Regions from separate parts of the Homo sapiens genome. Here region 1 is linked to region 2. The links are contacts of gene promoters, found by promoter capture Hi-C in blood cells and fetal thymus (Javierre and others, 2016). All regions are on one chromosome and are shown on one strand. The core of a region is centred on a gene start or on the middle of the fragment in contact, and the rest is flanking DNA. Distances in the headings are between cores, read along the strand shown. Region 1 has its middle 15 kb from the start of FRK. Region 2 holds the start of RSPH4A (radial spoke head component 4A).

Region 1 (4,598 bases), core at 2,074-4,573, 540 kb after region 2:
TTCAAATGTTTATTTATTTATTTATGAAATGGAGTTTTGCTCTTGTTGCCCAGGCTGGAGTGCAATGGTGCGATCTCAGCTCACTGCAACCTTCGCTTCCCAGGTTCAAGCAATTCTCCTGCCTCAGCCTCCAGAGTAGCTGGGATTACAGCCACCTGCTACCATGCCCTGCTAATTTTTGTGTTTTTAGTAGAGATGGGGTTTCACCATGTTGGCCAGGCTGGTCTTGAACTTCTGACCTCACGTGATCTGCCTGCCTTGGCCTCCCAAAGTGCTGGGATTACAGGCATGAGCCACTGCACCTGGCCAATTTTCAGATGTTTAGACTGTCTTGTAAGACATGTCAACATCCAGTTGCATAACTGCTGTATAGTATTAGTTGATCTGGCAGGGTTGGAACAAATAAAGGAGTCTGGTCATAGGCATGATGACATCGAGATCTATAATAAAGCAAAGGAGAGTCTCCATTTTCTCTGAAAGAAAGAAGCACAAGCTTTCTCCAGTACCTAGATAGTCCCTGGAATTTAGGAAATATTCAAAAAACTGTTCAATGAGTAAGGTAATGTACACATGAATATGTGATCAAGAAAGAAATTAAGGGTAATTACAGTTTAAATAAATCAGAGGAGAGAAGCCATATTTTAGAGAAAGATCACACTGAATTAGCACCGTGCATGTATCTGCAAGGATCAAATTACAAATTTGAATGAGTTGGGTGGGGAGCTATAGGATTTAAAGTCCACTTTACCTGAGGAGCAGCTGAAGTCAACTGTAATTTTTGTGAAAGGAAAAGCAACCCTGGGCCCATCAAGGTGGGGAAGGGCTGGTGTCTTAGGGTGCATTTTCACAGGCACAGCTAAGCCCTATGTGAAATATTCCTTCCACAACATCATAAAGGAATGAAGCCTTCGGCATTGGATGCATTGGGAACTAATTCCTGCTTGGTTCTTGATGTGTGACTTCAGTAAATAACCTAAAGCCTCTGTTTTTCTATTTTGTTATAAAGCTGACTGACAGTAACTACATTACAGGTAAAAACATGTAAAATGGAGTTTGTAATGTACCTCTATTTCTATATGAATTACTTCATTAATCTAAATGTGGTAGGAACTTACAACTTTTTGATTTTCATTTCTTTCATCTTTTGGATAGTCAATCTGATATATGAATACTTCGGAATTATCTTTGGGCAACTGAAAATGTTTATGAATTGGGAGATGGATTTTTCAAGATAATGCAGATAGAGTACAATAAAAATAATCTATAACGTTATCACCCTTCTTTCCTTGATCTGGTAAACACCTTTCTTGGACAAGTTCAGATTCAAACTGATAGCAAAGTGAAAGGCATTGTTACTATTATTATTTTAACTTAGAGAATCAGTGCATAGGGCACTCATGGAACAACAGAAGTATAAACACCGCCTGGGTCTGCATGGCCATTTGTGCAGCCAGCTCACTGCACCACCTTAGTCAAAGAAAAACACATGAGAATTGGTTGGAAATGTGTGACCCTTGAGCAGTTAAGCTCACTTATCAGCTTTCATCCTCAAAATAAGTGCAACAATGATATTAGACATGTCTGTCATTGACCAATCAGGAACAATTCAGCAAGGTGTTTATAAGCTATTTCATACCCTTTGCTTCCTTATCATTGCTATACTTTTACAAGGGCTGAAATGGATGAAAAAAATAATAATTTCTCATTTGTTATAAAAAGATAGCAAAAATCTAATGGTGAAATCATTTTTAAAATCAAGAAAATGACTCAATAGTTGAAATTAAAATATGTGAAATACAAAAGGAAGTGTGGTCCAATAGAAAAGGATACTTTCAAATAATTTAAAGAAAATAAATCATTTTGAACTTTGCTGTTTAGTATTTTATATTTGCATAAATAAATTTGATATACATTGCATATATATGACATCCATCATAACATACTGTAAGAAAAAAATGAATAATTTCCTTTAAATAATTTCAGAAAAATCTTTTATCATCTGGCAATCATCATATAAACTTTTGGTGAGAGTTCTCATACAGAAACAGATATGCAAGACACTTAGAAAATGGACATTTATAAACGAAGTGACTCAATTTAAAATACTTAAAACAAGAAGAGCACTAAGAAAACAATAATGAAGATGAGGATGAGAAATTCTGTGTTGCAGAAGGAATTTCCAGGAAGAAGTCAATGTCAAGGTATGCAAGGAATCAATGTTAAGGAGAGTTGATATGTGCCAAAATTTTACATTTATCATCTCATTAAATTTTTGTGTTCTACAGTCTACAGGCCCTGCAGATCTCATCCCTCTATCTTTCATTGTCACCTCTTGTCACTCTCCTCACTTTGTTCAGTCCAGCCTTAACAGCCTTCTTTGAGCACCTGTAAAGTGTAGGGCTCAGAATTTATGCCACTTGCCAAGGTCACACAGCTAGCAAAGGACCGTAATATCATCCTGGTATTATTTCATCCCTTTACTCCTTAATTGTGGGTGGTGGTGGGGCACTTTTTTATTGTTAAAAACAGAGCCAAAGACTGAGGTCTAGGTCTCTAGGGAAAGGAGGGCACAAAAGAACCCCAATGAAGAGCGTTAATTTCTCACCTGAGTTTAAAAGTGGGCCTTTGATCCTTTGACTGAAACAATCATCTTAAAATGAAAAGTCTTTGTACCAACTTCTGGGAGGAAAAAAAGTTCCAGGTTTTTTTTTTTTTTTTTTCCCCCAGCTCTTAAGCTTACATTTGCATAATCACACCAAAATCAAAAATACTATTAGCTTTTTTGGGGGCTTACTTTGTGTCAAAATTTTCGTAAGCCTTTTATACCTATTAACTCATATAATCTTCACAATGATCCATATGGTGTAGATACTATAATTATCCCTATTTTTGCAGATGAGGACTTGGGCATAAGAAGTTTAAAAAGAAATACTTACTCACAGTCACATAAATAGAAAGTAATTATAGAGAAGCCAAAGCCTGGGACCTAGCATAGAATCTGTTCATGATTCACAGTGGAGAAAGAGTGGATGGTGACATGTAAGAACTGGTTTCTCTTCCAAAAGGAGAGAAGAGTTCAACAAGCAAGTGGGAAAAAGAGAATCAGAGGGGCCTTGGTGAGAGCTGAAAACCCCCTTGGATGATTGAAATGACCCTAATCTCTGCCCTTCTCCTTCTCTCTGAGCACTCACAAGGGAGGGGGAATCGGATAGGTCCCAGAGCAGTATATATTGCTGCCTGGCTTCCCAGATTGTAACCCTAGGAGGCCATAATGTCAAGGCATAAAGTCAAAGGGAACACAGCATGGCACAACAGAGGGACAGGCATGACATAGAAAACTAAGGGCAGCCCCTCAGATTCTCTTGTGCCCTGGTATGGCACTGGAGAGCATTAGGAAGTTTTTCACATCCCTTCATAGGGCTGTGATGTAGGTTGGCTGAGGGCCACAGATGAGAAGTGGACCTGGGATGGTACAAAGGGAATTAGACTCCTCCCGTCTGACTTCTATGCAAAGAAATAATCTCAAGACAAGTTTTTGGTATAGGCTTTGATATATATGGATGGTCCTACCTCATGGCAGTTTCAATATTGTTAGTGAAATTTTGCTATCTATGAAAATGTAGCCATAACTCACTAAAATATATTTTTAAATAAATAATTTAAAAGTGTTTGCTCAAATTTAATTTTGCCCCATGTATATCTGATTACTCGAAGAAATAAGACAACTGGTTACGTTAGTTTCATCAGTTACATAAAATGAAGAAGCATGGCATATTTCATTACCCAGAAGAAGGGTGACCAACCATTTGGGTTTGCCTGGGACTTCCTCAGTTTTAAAACTGAAAGTCCAGCAGAGCTGGAGACCCTCAGTCCCTGGTAACCAGTATGCCATGTACAAATCTCAAGCTTCCTAACATTAAAAGCATGTACACAAAGGTGTTAGTCATTATGAGGACAGATGAGTCACCCCCAGTCTCCTGGTTTTAGCTTTAGGATATAACAGTATTATTTCTTAAGCTCTAAGTCAGACCTGTGGAGGACTTCTTGACCCAGGTCATTGAATTGTGGATTTGAAGATTTTCTTAATCTTTTCTAAGTGAAATACCTAACTCTGAGACACCAAGAGCTAAGATAGAAAGAGCGTCTGCAGTAGCTTTGCTGATCATGCAGGGGTAATTTAGAAGCAGGTGCTCTTGGCTCCTTTGTGTCAATGTGGTGGGCAGAGGACAGGATAAGTTAACTTGCTCACAGCTTCCTTCACCCTGGCAGCAGCCAGGAGCCAGAATTTGGAACTCTCGTGTCAGCTCTTATTAATTCCCCCAGCAGTCTTTGGCATTATAGTCAAACATCATTTCAAGCTCTCAGTCTGTCAACTCTGGATAATTCTTTGCTATCTCTTTGCTGTTATGGGAATTGATTAATACTTATGAGCACATTTTAATGGAAAAATGGAGTGTAAGTATTATTGCATGAACTGAAAAATAGTTTCCTACATAATATGTACAAGGAAAATAAGTCATGGGCTGTAGAGGCTTCTTGCGAGAGTTTTAAGTGGCGATCACTTACCTGCTGCTTCCCTATTCATTTTTAATATGTTT
Region 2 (4,147 bases), core at 212-2,711:
AAATTAAAGCTATAATGGGATGGGCAGAACATATGTAGACTATTGATCATCACATTTTAAGAGACTTGGATAAAATGGCATGTGTTCCAGGTAGCTTGTATAGTGACCAATTCTCCGAGTTTGCGAGGACTAAGGGGTTTCTTAGGATAAAGAACTTTCAGCGCTCAGCCAAACTGAGATGGTGGTCACCCTAGCACTGCCTGGGTTGGGAACTCAAAAGCCATGCAAGCAATAGCATCTACAGATGAGAGACGTGATTGCTTTCACTGGTAGACAATTATTTTTCACAAGCATCCTGGAGAGATGCTTGGACTTTATGGTCTTTATGGTCTTTTTCAAGCCCGAGATTCCATAATTCCTAAGTTTTATTTTGTTGTGTGCCTAGGGTCTTTAAAGAAGCTGGAGGAAAAGGACAAAAAAAAAAAAAGGTTAAGAAAAAGAAGGTACAAGAATCTCCATTAATGACCTGTTTTGAGTCATGTGATCCAGAGTTATGTCATTAACTCTCTTTTACTAACACAATCTTTCAAATATATTTTGATTCACCCACAGAAACACACTCTCACACAGAGATACTCACACACCCTCTTGCTTTGCCAAACATTTATCTTTTTTCCCTCTGAGACTTACAGATTAAAGCCCGAATTGCTGCTAGTCTTCAGCAGGTAAGCCTTAGCATTCTGAATGGTGATCTCAAGCATGCTGGGGGCCACTTCAGAGCCCCCAGGCGCCGGCTGCTGTAAATCATAGTCACTGTTTGAGTCTTCCTCCTGAAAAACGTCAAATCTCAGCTCTTTCTGTTTAGCGTTGTTATAGCTCACGTCCCTTCGTCCACACAGGTGGGGTTTGGGTTGCTGAGACTGTTGAAAGGTGTTTCCTTCTGACTGGCTTGTGTGATGAGGAGTTGATTCTCTTTTATCAGATGATTGTTCCAAAGGATCAGGATAAGGTGTCCCAGCTTCAGGAATCACACTCGTGGTCCTGTCCGACTGAGGTGGTGCCGCGAGGTCTTGTCTGGCCGGAGCCAGGGGAGAAGGAGAGGAAGAGGGCTCCCGCGGAGAGACAGGAGCAGGTGATGATGTTTCTGGTCCCGCGGGGCCACCCAGAGGCGTCTTGGCTCTAGACTGCGGGCTCCAAGGACGGCTGCTTCGGGACTGGCGTCCAGTTTCTGGCCCCTGCTTCGCCTCCAAGGGCTCAGACGACTCAGGCTCAGAATATTGGGGAGAAGCTGCTGTCTTTCCTTCCCATGGCCGCCTTGTTTCCCCTAGTTCTTCTTGGTTTTCTTTTTCTTGCTTCGGGGAGGTTGAGTCCTCCATGGAAGCAGTTCAAGAAAAAAAATGTTCTGGATGAAAGGGGCGTGAAAATATGGAAGAAGGCAACTCAGTTAAGTTACTTTGCCGCGGTCTCTTAAGCGATTTCTGGGTCCTGGTTGCTCTGTGAGTTGCTGCGTCCTATCTCCATAGCAACCCCAGGCCGGGTTCCTCTCAGAAAAACTCACCGCGCCTGTTGCCAGGATTCGAGGGCGGAGACTAAGAGAGAACGAGAGAGAGAGATGAAAATCCTAGCTTTGTGATTCGGTACAACCCCTGCCCCTCGTTCTATCGCAGCCAATCCGACCTAGACTCGACCAGTCTTGCTTGGAAACCGAGAACTCCAGATCCTGCGCCTTGAGCACAAAGTAGGAAGAATGGCGACCCCATGCGAGAGACCTTTAGGGGTCTGAGACTGATCCAAGTTGTGCTGTGAGGAGCGAGTCGTGCGTTAGTGGAGGGACAGTGTATTCATGAAGCGTGTGTGTGGAGGGTGTGTGTGTGTGAGAGAGAGAGAGAAGGAAGGAAGGAAAGAACGGAGGAAGGAAGGGAGGGAGGGAGAGAGGAGAGTGAGGGGTAGAGAGGGAGGAAGAGACTGACCTTGGTAATCTCGGAGGTGCAGGTAACAATGGGACCCCAGTGTGCTGACCAGGAGACCCCAAGCCTCACATTTAGCGTGCATCAGCTACAACCAACCAACTCTAAAGACTCGGAGAATAGACAAAGCAGTCCTGAGTTTTGTTCTTCCTGCTTATAAGGAATCTCCTGGTGATTAGGCAGAATATTATACTTGAGAAGGCAATGCAGAAAACCTATAAATAGGCAATTCATGGGTTACCCGTTTTCTAATAATTGAAATTCAAATTAACACTAAACTATATTGGCATAATATAATTTTTATTTGATAATGTAAATGTAAATGCATAATTTTGCAATGATTTAAGTTCAAGATTATGACTATTCATTTATAGTATACAGTCTCCAATATGAAGAAGGTATAGAAGATTGGACCATATCTGGACTTAACTATAAACCATATATTAATTAAAGTCTTTAATGTTAATTGTTTTGTATTTCTTTCTCTTTCTAAATATACCAACAAATACTTGGCATTTGACAGTTTACATTGATATAGCTTCTATTTAGCAAGATGTTGCTCTAAATTCTAACTTCATGGAAGAACATAATACTCCTCCATTCAGTGTGGTGAGGGAATCACAGACTAAAATAATTTGATAAAAACTGTGTGCACACACACAAAATGTTGAATATAACTTCTGCTGGTACAGAGACTCTTTAAAGTCAAATGTCTGGGATTTAGAATGCTTGGATTTCTAAAAACAGAACATTAAGATAAACTAGAACAATAAATTCTGGGGTTTTTTGGTAATTGGTGCAAGAGTTGAGGAAGTTAGCATTTTTTCCCCCTTAATTTCTCCCTTGCAGCTGGCAAGCTGTAATGGAGGCTTTTTTTTTCTTTGAAAGACAAGCCAGAGGGCCAGGTGTGGTAGCTCACACCTGTAATCCAAGCAGTTTGTCTTTTTTTCACCAGGTAATCCCAGCACTTTTGTGTTTTTTCTTTGAAAGACAAGCCAGAGGGCCAGGCAAGATGGCTCATGCCTGTAATCCCAGCACTTTGAGAGGCCACGGCAGGTGGATCAGTTGAGGTCAGGAATTTGAGACCAGCCTGGCCAACATGGTGAAACTGCATCTCTACAAAAATACAAAAATTAGCTGGGCATTATGGCGAGTGCCTGTAATCCCAGCTACTCCGGAGGCTGAGGCAGGAGAATTGCTTGAACCCAGGAGGCGGAGGTTGCAGTGAGCCAAGATCGTGCCACTGCACTCCAGCCTGGACGACAGCCTGTTATCCAGGCTGGAGTCAGAAAAGCCTGTGTCAAAAAAAAAAAAAAAAGAAAGAAAGAAAAAGAAAAGAAAAGAAAAAGAAAAAAGAAAAGAAAAGGAAAAAAGAAAAGAAAAGAAAAAAAGACAAGCCAGAGAAGGGTAGTAGGGCCAGGAGAAAGAACGCATGAAGGAACAGACATAGCTTGCTTATCTCTCCAGTTTAGGAGTGAAGAGCACCTGAAAGGAACAATGTAAGTGTCCGTTATTATTCCTGCTTCATTTTCAGTCCAGAGCTTTATCTTGACTTTGACTCTAGTAATCCTAAATTTGCTTCTTACTGTTCTTAAGATAAAGACTAAAGCTCTTAGCCTACTTATGTTCCCAGTTTTGTATTATGTGTCATATAATGCTGGCCTTATAAAATGGGTTGAGAAGTGTTTCCTCCTTTTCTGTTTTCTGGAATAGATTATATAGAACTGGTGTCATTTCTTTAAATGTTTAGTAAAATTTACAGTGAAACTGTATGAGTTTGGAAACTTCTATTTCAAGCGGTTTTTAAACTGCAAATTCAAACTTTTAAGTTGTTATAGGACTGTTCAGATGATCTCTTTCATCTTGGATGCATATTGGTAGTTTGCAATTTTAAAGGATTTTATGCATTTCATCCAAGTTGTTGAACTTATGTTTGCAGAGTTCTTTGCAGCATCCCCTTCTCATCCTTTTAATGTTTGTGGGGTCTGTAGTGATATCTCCTCTTCCATTCTTGATTTTGATAATTTGCCCTCTCTTTTTTTCTTTGTCTTATTGGAAGTCCATCAATCTTACTGGACACTGTTAAAATTAGCTTTGGGTTTTATTTATTTTCTCTATTATTTTTGTTTTCAATCTCATTGATTTCTCTTCTTATTTGTTTGCTCCTCTTTACTTTGTATTTATTTTGCTCTTCTTTTGCTAGTGTCTTGAAGTGGAAACTTGGATTATTTATTTGAGAT

What was found. Contacts are between HindIII fragments. The CHiCAGO score rates a contact against its expected background, and 5 or more counts as called.
Region 1: a contact is called between a fragment that was not itself captured here and the fragment with the promoter of RSPH4A in region 2, in 1 of 17 cell types (neutrophils). The highest score is 6.4, in neutrophils.

Annotation. Positions count from the first base shown.
Region 1 is chr6:116,073,588-116,078,185 of GRCh38, reverse strand. It overlaps a transcript of FRK not described here. Among named protein-coding and RNA genes, the nearest start is that of FRK, 15 kb to the right of the region's middle. The HindIII fragment of the contact is 1,171 bases long and covers 2,738-3,908 here.
Region 2 is chr6:116,613,793-116,617,939 of GRCh38, reverse strand. It overlaps RSPH4A (radial spoke head component 4A), which reads right to left and starts at 1,461. Exons shown (of 6, transcript NM_001010892.3): 1 at 631-1,461. The coding sequence starts at 1,316. RefSeq lists enhancers at 1,142-1,261, 1,312-1,411. The HindIII fragment of the contact is 5,584 bases long and covers 1-4,147 here.